2 separate regions of the Homo sapiens genome follow, and region 1 is linked to region 2. The links are contacts of gene promoters, found by promoter capture Hi-C in blood cells and fetal thymus (Javierre and others, 2016). All regions are on one chromosome and are shown on one strand. The core of a region is centred on a gene start or on the middle of the fragment in contact, and the rest is flanking DNA. Distances in the headings are between cores, read along the strand shown.

Evidence for each region. Contacts are between HindIII fragments. The CHiCAGO score rates a contact against its expected background, and 5 or more counts as called.
Region 1: a fragment that was not itself captured here is called in contact with the fragment with the promoter of RUFY3 in region 2 in 1 of 17 cell types (M0 macrophages); the score reaches 5.5 in M0 macrophages.

Annotation. Positions count from the first base shown.
Region 1 is chr4:70,926,507-70,931,361 of GRCh38, forward strand. All of the region lies in intron 1 of MOB1B (MOB kinase activator 1B), which reads left to right. Among named protein-coding and RNA genes, the nearest start is that of MOB1B, 27 kb to the left of the region's middle. The HindIII fragment of the contact is 2,588 bases long and covers 1-2,565 here.
Region 2 is chr4:70,719,092-70,723,933 of GRCh38, forward strand. RUFY3 (RUN and FYVE domain containing 3) reads left to right here and starts at 2,873. Exons shown (of 18, transcript NM_001037442.4): 1 at 2,873-3,660. The coding sequence starts at 3,483. The HindIII fragment of the contact is 24,519 bases long and covers 1-3,362 here.

The DNA.
Region 1 (4,855 bases), core at 22-2,521, 210 kb after region 2:
GTATAAACACTGTCATTATCTCCACTCATGAAATTCCCAAGCCCAGTGTATAAACTGTTTGTGCATTCCAGTTTTTTGTTTAGCTGTCTTACAAATGTATGGCATTATTGCATAATAAAATGAACATTTATTGAACACCTCCTGTGTGTAAAAGCGAAGTGTTAGGTGCTTGCTGGTGGTGGGAGGAGAAAGGAAGGGGTTTAGAAATAAACAAGATGTGCCGGGCGCAGTGGCTCACGCCTGTAATCCCAGCATTTTGGGAGGTGGATCATGAGGTCAGGAGATCGAGACCATCCTGGCTAACACGGTGAAACCCCGTCTCTACTAAAAATACAAAAAAATTAGCCGGGCGTGGTGGTGGGCGCCTGTAGTCCCATCTACTTGGGAGGCTGAGGCAGGAGAATGGCGCAAACTCAGGAGGTGGAGCTTACAGTGAGCCGAGATTGTGACACTGCACTCCGGCCTGGGCAACAGAGCAAGACTCCGTCTCAAAAAAGAAAAAAAAAAAAAGAAATAAGATGCGGTCTCTGTCCTCAAGAATCTTAGCACTGGAGACCAGCGTGTTACATAGATGTGCTCCTTAATGGTTGTTTTAAACTCTCAGTTCCAAGTCCACTGGCTAATGATGGTTAAAGACCCTTGCACTGCAAGATATTGCATTGAGTATACAAACTTTCTTGGGTGTATGTGTGAAATAATTGCAGTCTGTGTTCATCAAAAATTAGGAATATAAAGAAAAAAATTGCTGTCAGCCAGGCGCAGTGGCTCATGCCTGTAATCCCAGCACTTTGGGAGGCTAAGGTGGGCAGATCATCTGAGATCAGGAGTTCGAGACCAGCCTGGCCAACATGATGAAACCCCCGTCTCTACTAAAAATACAATAATTAGCCAGGCATGGTGGCACTCGCCTGTAATCCCAGCTACTTGGGAGGCTGAGGCAGGAGAATCGCTTGAACCTGGGAGGCGGAGGTTGCAGTGAGCTGAGATCATGCCACTGTACCCCAGCCTGGGCAACAGAGTGAGAATCTGTCTCAAAAAAAAAAAAATTGCCGTCAATACCACAGTTATAAATATGTGTAGTGCATTCACCTATTCAAAACAGCAAGAATTTTGCCGAATTGAGCTTCCGGTTTTTAGTCAGATGCTGTTTTTATTGTGTGGATGCGGGGGCCTCCCCTGCTTGTTCTTGGCATTGCTGCCACTGCTGTTCCACTTTAGCATCTTGGTTTTTAACATGGAGGGGAAGTGGTAGGAATCCTTCGGTGCACTCGCTTCCTGTAGTTCACTTGGGCATTTCAGGTAGATATTGGAATGGGCTGGAAGTGGTCTGCAAAACTCCAAGGCATAGAAGGCCTCCCTGAGATGTTTGCTTACCACTCCAGCCTCATCCGTGCCTTCCTGCTCTAACATCCCTCCCCCACAGTGTTCAGTGATTTTATTTGCATTTCTCTCAACCTGCTTTGCTCCATCTTTCTGCCTTTGTAAATGCCGTTCCTGTTATTCTGGCTGTTATTCTTCTCCTCCCCACCCCCATTTCTTTAGCTCAGGAGCCAACTTTTTCCCTGGCCTGTGCCCCCTTCCCAGTTTGTTAGATACCATTTCAGTGCCCTTTATAGTCCTTATCATAGTCCTTTCCAAAAAGACATTGTACTCCACCCACTGTCATGTGTATGATCTCTTTGAAGATGGGGCATTTTCAAAAAATGTTTGTTTTAAATCTCTACCACCTAGCATAGTGCCTCTTAGTAACAATTTTTTTTCCTGACTAATCAATGACATTTTCAAGAATTTTGTTTTTTTTTTTTTTGAGATGGAGTCTTGCTGTGTCACCTAGGCTGGAATGCAGTAGTGTGATCTCGGCCCACTGCACCCTCTGCCTCCCGGGTTCAAGCGATTCTCCTGCTTCAGCCTCTTGAGTAGCTGGGATTACAGGCGCGTGCCACCATGCCCGGCTAATTTTTTGTATTTTTAGTAGAGATGGAGTTTCACCATGTTGTTCAGGCTGGTCTCGAACTCTTGACCTCGTGATCCACCGCCTCAGCCTCCCAAAGTGCTGGAATTACAGGTATGAGCCACCACACGTGGCCTGACATTTTCAAGAATTTCATCACGGGTGGTGAGAGTATGAGTGATTCTCCTCAGTCTGTTGTATGTTTTTCCATTGTAAAGATTTTAGGGAAAATATTAAAAGGTGGCTACTGTGCACAGAAGAGTTTAGAATACCTATTTATTGGATTTTTATAATAAAAAAACTTTTTTTTAATAGACACGGGGTCTTGCTATGTTACCTAGGCTTGTCTTGAACTCCTAGGTTCAAGTGATCCTCCCACCTTGGCCTCCCAAAATGCCGATATTACTGGCGTGAGCCCCTGCACTCAGCCTTATTTATTGTATCTTTATCACATAGTTTTGTAGAGACCTTCTTTACAGGATTGTCATATACCAGGCACAAGTTTCCTATTTTCCAATGTGCCCTGTAAATTGTGTTCCCTCTACCAGGGAATGAGAGTGCTCATTTCCCTGCATTCCCACTATCATTGCATCATTAAGAAAAAGAGTCATGAAAGCTTCTTGGACTTTTAAAATTAATGCCAAATAAACAAGATAATAGTAAAGGTACTTCCAAATAATTTCTGTCCCCTGTATTTCTTTTCTTCTTTTTCTTTTCTTTCTTTCTTTTTTTTTTTTTTTTTTGAGACAATCTTGCTGTCACCCAGGCTGGAGTGCAGTGGCGTGATCTTGGCCCACTGCAAGCTCCACCTCCCAGGTTCAAGTGTTTCTCCTGCATTAGCCTCCCAAGTAACTGGGATTACAAGTGTGTGCCACCACGCCCGGCTAATTTTTGTGTTCTTAGTAGACAAGGGATTTTCCCATGTTGGCCAGGCTGATCTCCAACTCCTGACCTCAAGTGATCTGCCCACCTTGGCCTCCCGAAGGATTACAGGTGTGAGCCACTGCATCTGGCCAATTTAATTTTATTATTTTATTTTTGGAGATAAGGTCTTGCTCTGTGGCTGAGTCTGTAGCACAGTGGCCCAACAACTGCTTATTGTGGCCTCCACCTCCTGGGCTCAGATGATCCTCTTACCTCAGCCTCCTGAGTAGCTGGGACCACAGGTACACGTCACCACACCAAGCTAATTTTTTTTTTTTTTTTGAGATGGAGTCTCACTCTGTCGCCCAGGCTGGAGTGCAGTGGCGCGATCTTGGCTCACTGCAAGCTCCGCCTCCTGGGTTTACGCCATTCTCCTGCCTCAGCCTCCCGAGTAGCTGGGACTACAGGCACCCGCCACTGCGCCCAGCTAATTTTTTGTATTTTTAGTAGAGACGGGGTTTCGCCGTGGTCTCGATCTCCTGACCTTGTGATCCGCCCGCCTCGGCCTCCCTTAATACAGCCACTGCGCCCAGCCTTAATTTTTAAAATTTTTTGTAGAGACAGCGTCTCCCTATGTTGCCCAGGGTGGTCTTGAAGTCCTGGGCTTGAGCAATTCACCCGTCTCAGCCTCCCAAAGTGTTGGAATTACAGGCATGAGCCACCGTGCCTGGCCAGAATGAAGTTTTAAAATTTAAAATTTAGATTTAAAATGAAGTTTTAACAATTTACTAGAAAAATAATGCTTTTTTCGAAATTAGCATATAGTATAGTCTATAAGGGTGGATTTCACAAACTGAGATATTTAACTCAGTGTATATCTTGTTTCTTAGTTTTTTTTTGATATTTTACTACAGGCAATAAACTGATAATTTAGTGTACATAAACATGTTTGGGAGGCAGATGGCATATGTGGAGCTCTAAAAATAACTAAATTCTGGGGGTAGATTTAAAGTTACTTTTCACTTACTTCTCTTAATTCTTTTATTGCTTTTCTCATGGAGTCTGTTAGAAAGCTATGCCAGGGTTTTTAGTTTCTGATTATTTCAGGATGAAGAGTTTTTTTCTTTTAGTAACTCTTTCCCCAAAGTATGAGTAAACAGTCGTGTCCAATTGCTAGTGCATGTGAAGAATATGCTTTTATGGCATGCTTGTTATTTTTGAGTATTTACAAGTTGAACTATTAAGAGTAATTTATATGTTACAACAACTCAGAACACTCTACCTTTTTTTATTAGTAAAATCAGTAAATACTGTGCATGATTGTATGTGTGAAACCCTGGTAGCTTAATGAATTTTTTCTTTTTTTAAATGTCAGGTCTGACAACTGTGCTTGCATTTCACTTATTTCAAAAAGAGGAAGAGGGAGGATTTTTGCATTTAGTTTTGTGCATTTTTTTCTTTTTTTCCCTCTGATGGTTTTCACTTATTTCTGTTATCCTCTCTTAGTTTAAATGGTCAGAGTCGAAACCCATTCTAGGTATTGGGGAGCATTGCAACGTCTCAAATAATGTGAAATGTCACTTTTGCAGTTGACTGTATTAGCACTAAAGGGACTTCTTTAAACATTTTTAATTGTACCTTTCCTTTTTTTTTTTTTTTTTTTTTAACACAGCTGTTTCTCTGCCTTGTGTCCCAGGTTTGATTGCATCTGTATATTACTTTCACAGTGGGCCTTTCCTGACATCACACTGATAACCACTAGCTGCTTTTGTTAGACTTTGTTTAGAGAAATCATGGTTGTCCTGTGCTTGGGTACCATAAGCTCATGCTTAAAGCATTGGTGATCTGAAAGATCTGTTAGCTTCCCAGACAGAAAGGGGAGAATGAAATTAGCTTTAATGAAATAAATGTTTTGGCTCAGTTGTATAGAATAATTCAAGTCTTCTTATGATTTGCAGTTACATTCTGAAAGAATATGTCTAGAACTGTGTATGCCCCTGTAAATCAGGCTCAAAGAGGTAGGACTTAGACTTTAGGTGG
Region 2 (4,842 bases), core at 1,623-4,122:
GTTCGTGCTGAAGACTCAATGGTGTTTACCTAAAGAACAGCGTAGAAGTACAGTTTTTCTTGCCCACCCCCGGGTCTTATTTCTGAAATGGCTGCCAACACCTCAAACTGGTAGATCTGGGAAATTCAAGGATACCAATACAGGCATGTTTTTCTTTCCTTGCCAAAAACTTTAGTTGTTTTGGGCTTGCCTCTCTGTGTCCTCTACCTGGAGAGAGGCAGGGTGGGATGGATCTTCCGAAGGAATGTTAATCAAGTTTCTTGCTCACTAACCTTGATGTTCCTGTTGTGTTGGTATGTTGCAATCAATCTAGATCTGTTCAAGTTAGTAAATGCTTACTGGGGTGAAGAGATTGTTGTGGTTTGTGACAAGGCCAAATTCAGGTTTTGGACCCCAGACAATCACATGGCATTCGGATTTATTCATGTATTCCTTGTTCTGTTTTAAGAACATATCAGTGATCTAGAGTTTTGATATCACACATACAGATAGCTAGGGCTGTTTGGAGTTGTGGTTCCAGGAATGTCCCATGTAATTTGAAGGTTTTAATGACTACTTACTATGTTTTGAAGTATTGCATGATATAAAGTGAATCTATAAACTGTCCCCTTATTAATATATAATATGGGAATATTTTTGGCTAGAAAGGAATTGAACTGAATTAAATGAGAATGTGTTAAATGAAGGCTTGTGTTCAGTATTTGGATATGAAAATTCTGTTTCCTGGAAAAGGTGTTTCTGTCTTACTGCTGCGTGCCTAGTGCCTGGATCACTACCTGGCATGTGGAGCACCTCTTAGTGAATATCTGTTGAATGAATGAATGAATGAATGGCTCTGAGTCTAGATGTAGGGTAATGATGAGAGAGAATGAGATAGAAATAAAACCAGGAGTATTTTGCTTTCCTTAGTAACTTACTGATTTTCCCCAATTATAAATAAGCCTATATATATGCCTTCTTACATTGTACCAGTATACCCTCCTTCTTTTTTTTATTTTGAGACAGGGTAGAGTGCAGTGGTATGATCTCGGCTCACTGCAGCCTCTGCCTCCTGGCCTCACGTGATTCTTCCACCTCAGTCTCCCAAGTAGCTAGGACCACATGTGCGCGCAACCATACCTTGCTAATTTTTGTTTTTGTAGAGATGGAGTTTTGCCATGTTGCCCAGGCTGGTTTCAAACTCCTGAGCTCAAGCCATTCACCTGCCTCAGCCTCCCAAAGTGCTGGGATTACAGGCACATGCCACCACATCTGACTAATTTTTGTATTTTTAGTAGAGATGAGGTTTCACCATGTTGGCCAGGCTGGTCTCGAACTCCTGACCTCAGGTGATTTGCCCGCCTTGGCCTCCCAAAGTGCTGGTATTATAGGCATGAGCCACCGCGCCCAGCCATCCGCCCTGTCTTCGTAACAATATGAAAATGCCAGTTTCTCTACAGAATTTGATTATTAGCATTTTTTTCTTTCAGTTCAGTCTCAAATTATGATGAAGCATTTGAGATTTTAACAATATTCAAGGAGAATTTTTTTAGTTTTCAGAAATTAGGTAAATCAAGATGTCCCTCTGATAACAATCCCTAGAAAGGAATAGTCTCAGGTCATATTTCTTGAATTTGTATGTTCCTCCTTAAAATTGGAACCCTTCAATACAAAAACAAACAAACACTTTCTTTCAATTGTCCAAAACATTTTCAAAGAAAATTCTTATTCTTCTCTTTGTAATTTATGTAGTTCATAAAGCAAGTACCTGCCCTTTTGCTACCAAGGTATAAATGCCTCATTGGATAATATAGGGCCGTGTGTGTGTGTGTGTGTGTGTGTGTGTGTGTGTGTGTGTGTGTGTATTAAGAAAATATAATTGTCTTCAGTATCTTATCGAATGGGAGGATTTTAAAAATATAACATGGTTTAATCTGCTTAGAAACATATTTCATGCTTAAGGCTGGGCATGGTGGCTCACGCCTGTAATCCCAGCACTTTGGGAGGCTGAGGTGGGAGGATCATGAGGTCAGAAGTTCAAGACCAGCCTGGCCAAGATGGTGAAACCCCGTCTCTACTAAAAATACAAAAATTAGCTGGGCGTGGTGGTGGGTGCCTGTAATCCCAGCTACTCGGGAGGCTGAGGCAGAGAATTGCTTGGACCTGGGAGCTGAGATCACGCCACTGCACTCCAGCCTGGGCTACAGAGCAAGACTCTGTCTCAAAAAAGAAAAAAGAAAAAAAAAGAAACGTATTTTATGCTTAATACAGAAACTTGATAAATACAACAAAATCAAAAAGGGGGGAAATTGCCATTAATTGGGAAAGATTTTACTTTTTTAACTTGAAGTTTTTTTTTTGCATTTCTGCCTAACCTAAAAGGTCAGGTTTTTGTACCTTGGAGAAGGAAATTATAAATGCCCAAGAATAAGATATTTAAATTGAAAATCTACTTTAGCTTTTCTTTTTATCTTTTTGTTTTTTTTCCCTCTGAGAACCTCAATTTTTTATGCTTTAGCTTTTCTTAAAACATAACATTTAGCATAGTAAAGAATTTTAATAGCTATGTAGATAAGAATGAAAGAGGTGAATTATATGCTTGTTAAATTAATCTAACTGCCTCTTTTACCATCTTTACTATAGATTATTATCCGGTATTAATTGTCATCCTTTTATTCAGTCCTTGATCCCAAAGTAAGAAGAATTGATGAGGATATGTGCATTGTGTTATGTCTGATCACAGTTTGACTAGCACAGTCTGGAAGTGGGTTGTACAGGATGAGAGAGAGAAGCCTAATTGCTCTCCCAGCATCAGCAGCATCTATAAAGCATCCTGGGAATTGCTTGCCCTACGTTCAGAGCAGCTGGTCACATGAGCCTGAATTTTCAGTTCAGTTCATTAGTCAGCCATTTTGGTCAACACCCTGCTTACTGCGCACGGCCAATCCTATGAGAACTCAGCATCCCAGCTCATCTGAGCAGATCCTGGAAGTGATTTCTGCAGCTCAGGATTTTTTTTTTAAGCTACATTGAAAATATAGGTTTATTTTTTGTTCAGGTTTTTCTTTTATATTTTTTTTCTGCACAAAGGAGGAGGATTTTTCACTTACTCATATCGAGGCCAGATTTTTAAAGCCAGCTAAGGCAGCATCAGCTGTGCGGGATTTAAAGCCTATAGCTCAGCTGAAAAAAAAGGTGGGGGGCAGGGAAGGGAAGATAAAAGGAGAGGAAGCTGGGAGAAGACAAGCATCATCTTATTTTGCTATGTGGTAGGAACTGTCTATAAGATAGTGTAGAATTGTTTATCTTGAGCAGTTTGTTCTTAACCTATAAGGTATTTTTCCTTTTTTTTTTTTTTAAACCTCCCCCACCCTTTTCCTGAAAGCTTTGTTTCAGAGCTTTGTATTGGGTTTTTTTGGTGAGGAGGTTGTATTTATTTTTTTGGTGTGTGTGTGTGAGTGTGTGTGTGTCTGTGTGTGTGTTGTGGTCCCAGCTGAGTCATCATGTCTGCTCTGACGCCTCCGACCGATATGCCAACCCCCACCACTGACAAGATCACACAGGCTGCCATGGAGACCATCTACCTTTGCAAATTCCGAGTGTCCATGGATGGAGAATGGCTCTGCCTGCGAGAGCTGGATGACATCTCACTTACACCTGACCCAGAGCCTACCCATGAAGGTATGGTCAGATCCTGTCCGCTAGTATTTCACCAGCATCCTCATTGTTATGGGGGAGGGCTGGGAGGATCAGGGAGAGGTAGAAAGAACCTACACTCTCAACTGTTAACAGTCCTGAAAACCTTGCATCCTTACTTACCACCCAGCTCCCCTTCTCTTGCTCATGGGGGAAAGATAATTTTTTTTCTTGCCCCTTTAGGTATCCTTTCAAAAGATGCTGGATACTCGTTTAGAGTTCTTTGTCTTTAAGCCTCTAAATAAAACATTTGAGGTCACTTATCACATCTGATTCTATTCAATAATGAGAAAGCTATTAATTTTGTTCATATATGAAAATGTTATAGAAATTGTAGTGATTTATAACACTAAGTTAAGACAACATGACTATAATTATAGGATTGTACATGATGAATACAGTAGAAACACCAGGGTATTTGGTAATGGTATCCTCACCATTATATGAGGATACAATTTTAAGCAAGTTATGACATCTAGGAAATGTTTGATAAAACATTTTTTTAACAATATGGATTATTAGGTTAGATGAGAAAATAACTTTTCAGCATTTATTTATTGAATATGGACTCCTAAGAAAGCATAATGCCTGGAAAGGTTAAATATGATTAATATGGCATCCCTATAGATTACAATAGAATGGTAATATTGGAATCTATTGGCCATTGCTTTTTATAAATTATTTGTGGTAACTATTATGATCCATTTGAGATTTCCACTGTCAGTACCTCTGAGATCTTTGTGGTCTCTTGACTTGCGACTTTTTTCCAGGACTCTTGCTAATTTATGAGAGGTTTTCTGCTTCTACCCTTTAATTCTCTTAATACCACAGAAAGAGAGCTGATTTGAATCATAGCTACAAATCGTTTTGTTTTTAATACAGTTGCTTCTTAGCTAAGGTTTATTCTCTGTCCTTATACTGATGAAAAAAAACAAAAAACGCTTGCATATGAGGAGAAATTCTTTATAAACATCTGCCTGATAGTTAGGCACATCGACAGGACAAAGAAGACCATAGGTGAATTGTACCTAGCAGATGGGGTTAGGAAAGGTGATTCTCTGCCTTTGACCTTGAGTTGAAATCTTATCATGACTCAGAATTTTCCCATTGTGTTTGATAAGCATTTTATCTTCCCAGTCAGCCTTAGCCTTGAGAAAGTTTTAGGGA